Linked DNA regions of Homo sapiens: region 1 is linked to region 2. Evidence: promoter capture Hi-C in 16 types of primary human blood cells and fetal thymus (Javierre and others, 2016). All regions are on one chromosome and are shown on one strand. Each heading gives the region's core, a stretch centred on a gene start or on the middle of the fragment in contact. The rest is flanking DNA. Distances are from core to core; before and after follow the strand shown. Region 1 overlaps TSEN2 (tRNA splicing endonuclease subunit 2). Region 2 holds the start of ATG7 (autophagy related 7).

Evidence for each region. Contacts are between HindIII fragments. The CHiCAGO score rates a contact against its expected background, and 5 or more counts as called.
Region 1: a contact is called between a fragment that was not itself captured here and the fragment with the promoter of ATG7 in region 2, in 2 of 17 cell types (fetal thymus and non-activated CD4 T cells). The highest score is 8.0, in fetal thymus.

Annotation. Positions count from the first base shown.
Region 1 is chr3:12,484,813-12,489,079 of GRCh38, forward strand. TSEN2 (tRNA splicing endonuclease subunit 2) reads left to right here. Exons shown (of 12, transcript NM_025265.4): 1 at 1-68. Among named protein-coding and RNA genes, the nearest start is that of TSEN2, 2.5 kb to the left of the region's middle. RefSeq lists an enhancer at 1-11. The HindIII fragment of the contact is 809 bases long and covers 847-1,655 here.
Region 2 is chr3:11,270,016-11,274,252 of GRCh38, forward strand. It overlaps ATG7 (autophagy related 7), which reads left to right and starts at 2,382. Exons shown (of 21, transcript NM_001349232.2): 1 at 2,382-2,415. RefSeq lists enhancers at 1,980-2,029, 1,986-2,577, 2,300-2,429, 2,578-3,167. The HindIII fragment of the contact is 2,908 bases long and covers 406-3,313 here.

The DNA of each region.
Region 1 (4,267 bases), core at 1-2,500, 1.2 Mb after region 2:
CGAGAGGAGCCGCAGCCTCTGGTGGAGTTCGGTCGGGTGTGGGGGTAGTCAAGGAAAGAAGCAAAGGGGTAAGACAGGGAGTTAGGAATTGGCGGGGCCCCTAACGCTGTTGGGGTGCGCAGTTTATTTTATTTGCAGCTGTCGTCTGGTGAGCGCTTTCCACGTGGTAGGCCCCGAACGAAACGCCTTCTGCAAAATTATGCATTTAATCCTGACAACAACTTTCAAAGGCTGGTCATCTGTTTATATGGCTTATTCTCAGGTTCTAACTTGAAAGCTCCCCAGAGGCAGGATTGTTTACCTTGTGCCTTTCATCCTTGCCTCCCTAAGCCCAGGAGGTGCGCAGATGGAGCTTGAAGCGTGTTTTGGTTGGGAGAAGGTGAGATTTGCTGGGTAGGAGGTTTTTTAACCAGGTTTGTTTGGCACCTAGTCCAGGAAGGTTGGAAAATTAAATGGAGCCACCTCTCCCTTTTTTGTTTTTCTAATAGACATTTACCATCACCTAAGAGGTGTTAGCCTGTGTGCTCGAGGGAAGAATAAGAAACAGACTCTGCTTTTAATAGAAAGTAAGAATATGCAGCTCTGGAGTCAGGTTGCGCAGGTTGGGGAAATAAGAAGTAAAGATTTCTCAGGGGTGCGCCCGGCCCCTCCGAGTCACTTTCCACATCTGTACAATGGAAATAAAAATAGTCTTTACCTCCGGGGGCTACTGGGATTAAGTGAATTTGAATAGACCTTGCTGTTACCAGTGGTTAGCTATATGTTAAAATCAGCTGGGTCCACCCAGGAAATTCTGATGTAATTGATTGCAGGTGAGGCCTGGGCATGAGGAGTTAAGGGTAGGTAAGCTTGAGGGCCACTGTGTGATGTACCACTCCCAGGTTTAATTTTCTTAATCTGCATTTTTCAATCATCATTCTAAATAACCTGCAGTGACTCCAATTCCAAACCAACCTTTGCATCCCAAACCTCTTGACAACTGACCCAGTCTTTCCTATATGTTTTTGTGCACCTCAGGCACCGCTCTTCTTTCATATCTGTGGAATGAGGATAGTACAGTCAGCTCTCGCTATCAGGTTCCGAATCTGTGGATTCAACCAATGTTGCATCAAAAATATTTGGAAAAAGAAATTTAAAAATATATATATATAACAATTATTTAGTATTTACATTGTATTAGGTATTCTAAGTAATCTAGAGAAGACTTAAAGTAGATGGGAGGATGGGCATAAGTTACATGCAAATACTACATTTTATTTAAGGGACTTGAGCTGCGGATTTTGGTAGGGGGTGAGTCCTGGAACCAGTCCTTCTGTGGATACCAAGGGATGACTATAGTACCCACATGTGCAGCACATGCAGTGAGTGCCTCTGGCATCTGGTACCTACCTATGACAGTTTCCTCTTCTTATTTTACTCACATCCCACCTCTTACAGCATGCTGTTCTGCCGCGACACTAAAGAACCTTCTTGAATATCCATTGCAGATATGGGGAATGGTAAATGCAGTCTTTTCTCCTCTGCTTTGCCTTTCGAGTTCAGCACAGGAGGACTCTTCCATGAAACTAGAGATCATCTGATTTGTCCTCTTGAATTTTTCCCCCTGGGGAAGTGAGCTCTACCTTCCCTGAGGGTTTCTTTCTATCTTTTCTAGAAGCTTCACGCTGGTATCTGTGAAGTCATTCTTGCAGGACATGGCCTGGGGAATGTCTTTACTTCTGAATTTTTTAAAATAGCTTTATTGAGATACCATATAATTCTGTAAAAGTCACCCTTCTGAAATGTACGAGTCAGTGGTCTTCGTATTCGCGGAGTTATGTAACCATTACCATCACTACAATCTAATTTTAAAACATTTTCGTCACCCTCCAAAATAAACCTCCTGTCTTATTAGCAGTCGCCCCCCCATTTCCCACTTTTCCCTGTCTCTGGCAACTGGTAATCTGTCTCTATGGATTTGTCTATTCCGGAAACTTTATCTTAATTGTCTCGTGGTCTTTTGTGTCTGACTTCTTTTAGCATAATGCTTTCAGGTGTTGAAGAATGTATCCGAACTTCATTCCTTTTCTATGGCTAAGTATTTGATTATATGGATAGACCACATTTTGTTGATCTGGTCAACTATTGATGGACATTTGGATGGCTTCCACTTTGATGCTATTATGAATAATACTGTTGTGAACATTCACATACAAATTTTTCCATGAACATATGTTTTCATTTCTCTTAGGTCTATACCTAGGGGTGGAGTTGCTGGATCATGTCGTAACTATGTGTTTGACATTTTGAGGAACTGCCAGACTCCTCCAGTCCTGTTCGATTTGAAGATGAAACTGGGCTTAGAGAAAGTGGGTTGTGCAAGGTCACACAATAATAATGGCGGCTTTGCATGTCTGGAAGGCCTACTGCGAGCCAAATTCCTGAGGGGTGTGCAGCCACATGAGCAAGAGTAACACAAGAACTTGGATTATGAGGGGTGTTTTGTCGCAGGGACCCTTCCATCCCACACACCTGGGTTGGAGTACAGAGTTCTTTCGATCAAGTGTCACAGCTAAATCTTGCCTTTTTTAGATGTGACAGCAGTCTGAGAGGGAAAAACGCTGAACAAATGAGGCAGACTAAAATACAACTCTTATTTGTTGAGAGAATTTATTAGAACTTCTTGAAGGTGGCCATTAAATCTTTTTTCATTTTTTTAAAATTCCGAATGTAATGTATATAAGTCAGCTGCTGAGCAGAGGTTATAAAAGTGAAAAATCCCATAAAAGTCCAAACCATTCCTGGAAGTCTTTCAAAAAGTGCCTTACTAGAGACCAACATCCTGCCCCCAAAAAGCAGTGTTTATTTTCAGTTTTAGAATAAATTATTGTCTCTCCAATTGAGTACTAAATGTGATAATTTAGTACTTGGGCTGAGGGATAAGTCAGCAAGCAAGGTAAAGCCTAGTCTAAATATGCTCTTAAGAAAATCTCTTAGGTTTCCTGTGAGCATGCAGTAGACGTGGTTTTGTTATAAACACTATACAGCAAGATGCATGCATAAATATAAAATGTACAAAGTAATGCTCAGTATGTAATTCCTTCAAGGAACCTTATTTAGAAATTAATCTAGCATGTTGCTGCTTAGAACAATGGCAATTCTAGGAAGGTTCCAACTTCCCGATTCTTCTTTTTCATGGTTATCTTTGTAATTGATGTATCATTTCCTCTAACTCCTCTTTAGTCTGTGTTTTTCTGTGTCCTCATATAATTCCTCAGCTTCTTCCTTGAGAAGTTGGATACTGATATCATCACACGTTGGATAAGCCTTTTCTTAATGGTCATGACACTCTTAAAGCCACTCACCTTCCCCTCCCTCAGTTTTGGCCACCTTCTTGACTGTTTCAGGCTTGATGGCATCCCTTGCCAATGGGATGCAAGTACTGAGTGCAGGAGCCACCTAAGTAATTAGTCTTATTTTTTCCCTTGTGAGGATTCGGAGTCATGTAGGTTAAACGTGTGTATGATTTGGCCGCACTGTATCTTCAAGCACCAGGTAAGCTCTCAGTTGAAATCAAGTCTAGACCTAGTACTGGGGGAGCAGCAGATTCAAGTTTCCCATCTCATTCCAGGACAGCTGCTCCTCGAGTGGAATGTCTTGCACCATTTACATTGTTTTCCCATGTATATGGTTACGTTTTCCTAGGTTAAGTGCATCTACTGTATCTCTGTGTCTGCATCACACAATATGTTCACATTTACTTCCCTCCTTTAGACATTAGTGGATAACAGCCAGTTCCGTTAGCTCCAACCTGCTTTCTGTGCTTCCAGCTATGTTATATACTTGTTTTGTCTCCTTGGATCCAATGTATGGCCCCAGAGGGACACGTACTGGCTTTGGCTTTCTGTTCTCCCTCATGGTGCTGGGTGCACAGTGGGTAATTCCGTTACTGCTCAATAACCCTTCACCGTCTGATTTTGAGAAAGAGTCATCAGACAAAAGTAGATAGACCCTGCCTGTGCTTTCAGCAGAATCTAGAGAGAGGGCATGGGCTTGGGAGTTCAACAGACCTGGGTCACCCGATGCCACCACACTCGGGGTCGTCTACAAATCTCTCTAACCTGAATCTGTTTCCTATTTGTAAAATGGTGTTGCTACTGCTCACCCTGTAATACTAATTATAGCTGATACATGAATGGTACACGCTATGTGCCAGGTACTGTTCTAAGCACTTTATGGATCTTAACTGTAAGATAGAGTCGTTCTTATCTTGATTTTGCAGGTGAGG
Region 2 (4,237 bases), core at 1,132-3,631:
AATTAGCCCGGCATGATGGCATGCACCTGTAGTCCCAGCTACTCAGGAGGCTGAGGTGGGAGGATCCCTGGAGCTCAGGAGGTTGAGTCTGCAGTGAGCTATGATCACTCCACTGTACTCTATCCTGGGTAACAGAGGGAGACCCCGTCTCAAAAAAAAAAAAAAAAAAAGATAAAGCAAAAAAGAGAAATCTTTCTTAACCTTTTTGTGCTTCAGAAAATGTTCACTACAAAGAAATACCCATTCTCATGTCACTTAAATGACTCCTGGTTGCCTCCCTTGTTTACTGTGGCAAGGTCAAACACAGTCCTTCTGAATTCCCATTCTTTGCCTCATAAATGATTACAGAGCTGCTTGTCTCCATTGACCAGTTGGAAAAAATGCTTATTAACCAAACTTGGGTTAAGCTTCTTTCCTTTCCCCAGGCTCCTTACTTTAACCTACTCTCAGCTTGAACTAGCATACTGTCTCATGTGTCCGTGTGAAGAGACTACCAAACAGGCTTTGTGTGAGCAACAAGGCTGTTTATTTCACCTGGGTGCAGGTGGGCTGAGTCCAAAAAGAGAGTCAGCAAAGGGTGGTGGGATTATCATTGGTTCTTATAGGTTTTGGGATAGGCGGTGGAGTTAAAAGCAATGTTTTGGGGGTAGGGGGTGGATCTCACAAAGTACATTCTCAAGGGTGGTGAGAATTACAAAGAAACTTCTTAAGGGTGGGGGAGACTATAAAAGAACCTTCTTAAGGGTGGGGGAGATTACAAAGTACATTGATCAGTTAGGGTGGGGCAGAAACAAATCACAATGGTGGAATGTCATCAGTTAAGGCTATTTTCACTTCTGCGGATCTTCAGTTGCTGCAAGCCATCTGGATGTATACGTGCAGGTCACTGGGGATATGATGGCTTAGCTTGGGCTCAGAGACTGACACACACAACCCCTACTGAGAATAGGTTGGCCTCAAGATAAAACATTCTCTAATCTACTATCTGATCAAGCCACCCCTTCATCCCACTTCCCATATTCGGTTGTTTCCAGCCTTGTTTACCTGCCTTTGGGGAGGGTGGGGGGTGGGGGAACCCTCTTTTTCCCTAACCATTGAAACATCTGCGGATGTTTTGGTCAGAGTGATCTCACTATTGCAATAGTCTCCCTCTGCTATTGCACGGTTCCTTCTCTCCCACCTCTCTCACTTCTTGCAGTAATCCTTTCTTTTTTTTTTTTTTTGAGACGGAGTCTCGCTCTGTCGCCCAGGCTGGAGTGCAGTGGTGGGATCTCGGCTCACTGCAAGCTCCGCCTCCCGGGTTCACGCCATTCTCCTGCCTCAGCCTCCCAAGTAGCTGGGACTACAGGCGCCCGCCACCACGCCCGGCTAATTTTTTTGTATTTTTAGTAGAGACGGGGTTTCACCGTTTTAGCCGGGATGGTCTCGATCTCCTGACCTCGTGATCCGCCCGCCTCGGCCTCCCAAAGTGCTGTGATTACAGGCGTGAGCCACCGCGCCGGGCCTGCAGTAATCCTTTCTAATAAGTATCCTTATTAGTCTGGATTTGTTTTCTTATTTGCCAGAATCAAACAAACTTCAGATTACGTTCCTGGCCCAAAAGCCCTTTAACTTTCAGCAAGCCACCTAACTTTTCTTAGATTCTGTTCTTTCATATATAACTTGGGGATATGTTTCAGGACTCTTGTGAGGATTAGAGATGTAAAACCCTGAAAACATGGTGGCTAGTTAATTAATAGCAGTCATCGCTCTTGTTGTTATGAGTCTAGAGTGGTATATCAGAGTTAATTTGTGAAAGGCCTTACAGGCCAGACAGAGAAACTTGTCATAATCACTGCTGTATCTTCAACACCTGTCCAGTGCTTTGCACGCGCAGAGTATCTAACCAAGTATTGAGAGGGAATAACTTTATCTCACTGACAGTGAGGAGCTGTGAGAATGATGGCTGGTTTAGAAAAGGCAGGTTGGTCACTGTCGACGTTCACTGGCCTTTTCCTACTAAAATTCTCATCTCCTGGCTCTCCACACCTGCCACCCTGATGGCCCCTGTGCTGCGTTTGATGCCGCCTCTCCTGGAGAATGACCATGGTGATCATTCCTGTCATCCTCTGAAATCAAAAGAGAGAACGTGGGCACTTTCTTAAAAGCCTGAAGGGAATGTAGACATTCCGACATCTGGTAAGGGAGACGCTCTCCATCGCTTCCCCCGGGGGCGTCACCGCCCCCTGATGCCCCGCCCTCCTCACGACTCAAGTTCCTCCCACTTAGCTCGGTGCTAGGGGCGCATTTCCCCGGCATGCCTCTGCTCCTTTGCGCACGCGCGCCGCTTCCCAGTGGCAAGCGCGGGCAGGACCGCGTTGCGTCATCGGGGCGCGCGCCTCAGAGAGAGCTGTGGTTGCCGGAAGTTGAGCGGCGGTAAGTGAGCCGCGGCGGGCGAGGGTGTAGTGGGGTCTTGCTGGGCCGGTTTTGGAGGCCTGGAGTCAAGGGGCGAGCTCGCCAGGGAGGGCGAGGGTCACAGCAAGTCTCAGGATCCTCCTCTGCCAGTTTCTGGGTGGTCCTTCCTCCTCCAGGGACTCACTGATTCCGGCTGGCGCCCTTCGTCTGTAGCCGCGTCCCCTCAGACTGGTTCAGTCCGGGGTCTTCTGACTTGGAAGCTCGTGCTGATTTCCTAAGTCAGCCCCTCCTGTCCTCTTGGTAGGCAGTGCTCAGAATCTTCAGTGTTGGAACACGGGAGATGGGACATTTGGATTCCCAGCCTGGCTGTGTCTGGATTTGCTGTCTCTGGCACGTTCCTTCCCCATCTAAGCTGCTTTTCCATCTGCAAAATGGGAATGATAATCCGCCATTTGTTTAAGTGAGGAGGTTAAATAAGTTTACTTTCTGAGAAAGAAGATTCTCGATTCCTTGGTTACAGGGTTAGAAACTAATGCACAATAAGAATCAATCCGGTAAGGTAAATATAGGTGTTAGAACATTTGTCAGAAATAGAGTCAAACTTCTAATTTTATAAGTACAGTACTAACGTACATGATGTTGGAGAAGTACAAGCCAAACCGTGTGTGTGTGCACGTGCGTGCAGTTTCCTGATTTTTAAACACTGGCGACTGATGCCATTTTTTAAAAATTGGCAAGTAATTCTGGCGTTTAAAAACATTGGCAACTCAGTTTTTACAAAACCCTGTTCAACTGTAACCAGTCATATCTGTGGCTGTCAGTTTGGGACCTCTGGATCCCAGACTCCCTTTTTCATTGACTACTTAGATTTTTTTCTCTGACACCTCTGCCCACTGGCCAGATTTCTTCAGTGACAGAAAGCTTTCTACTTCTGGTTGCTCCTGTTTGGTCCTCCCCCAGTTCTGACTCTTAGGTTGAGCTGAAAGCAGCTACTCGGTAATCTTAGCTCACTGTTCCTCCTTCAGGCTCTTGGAATCACCCCTGCATTTAATTGCCCTATACATCATTGAAAGCTGCTAGTTTGTCTTCCTCTTCTCACCTTTTCTTCTCTAGGCTAAGCATATTTAATGTATTTGCTCATAGTAAACTTAACAGTGACAGCAAATTTTGTCATGTTTTGTTATATCCCCAGCATATAGAGCAATGCCTAGCATATTATATATGCTCAATAAATATTTGTTGGATGAATGAATAAAACAAATATTTGCCTGTTATGTGCCTGGCATTATTGTGGGCACTGGTGATCTATCAGTAAAATAAGAAGAAAAAGAACCCTGTTTCATGGCACCTTCTAATAATAGTGGTGGTGGTGGCGGTGGCGGCATTGTCAGTAAGGGTTGGTAGGTGTTTCCGATTCTGAAACGTACAGGGTCATGGGATGGACAGTAATTGGGGGGAAGCATAAAAGCTAGCTAGTCAGGGATGGCTTCCCTGAGGAAGTGACCTAACACTTGAATAAAGAAAAGTCCAGTCTTGGAATGGCTCATGTTGCTAAACTGCTTTCCCATCCCCCAACGCTGCTCCAGTCTTGTTAAGCTGCTTGCAGGTGTGTGTCACCTATAGCCCTTTGCTTCTGCTGCTTCGAACATCTCCCCTTCCTCTTCCATTTATCTTGGCCAACTCCTTCCTGCCCTCATGTGACATGATTTTGAAATCCTTTAAGAGCTGAGTACTGGACTTTCCATTACTCAACCACAGGTTCCGTTTTTCGTTCCCAGCCAGCATCTCATTATAGAGAATAAACATTTATTGAGCTTCAGCTGTGTGTCTGGCACTGCGCTGC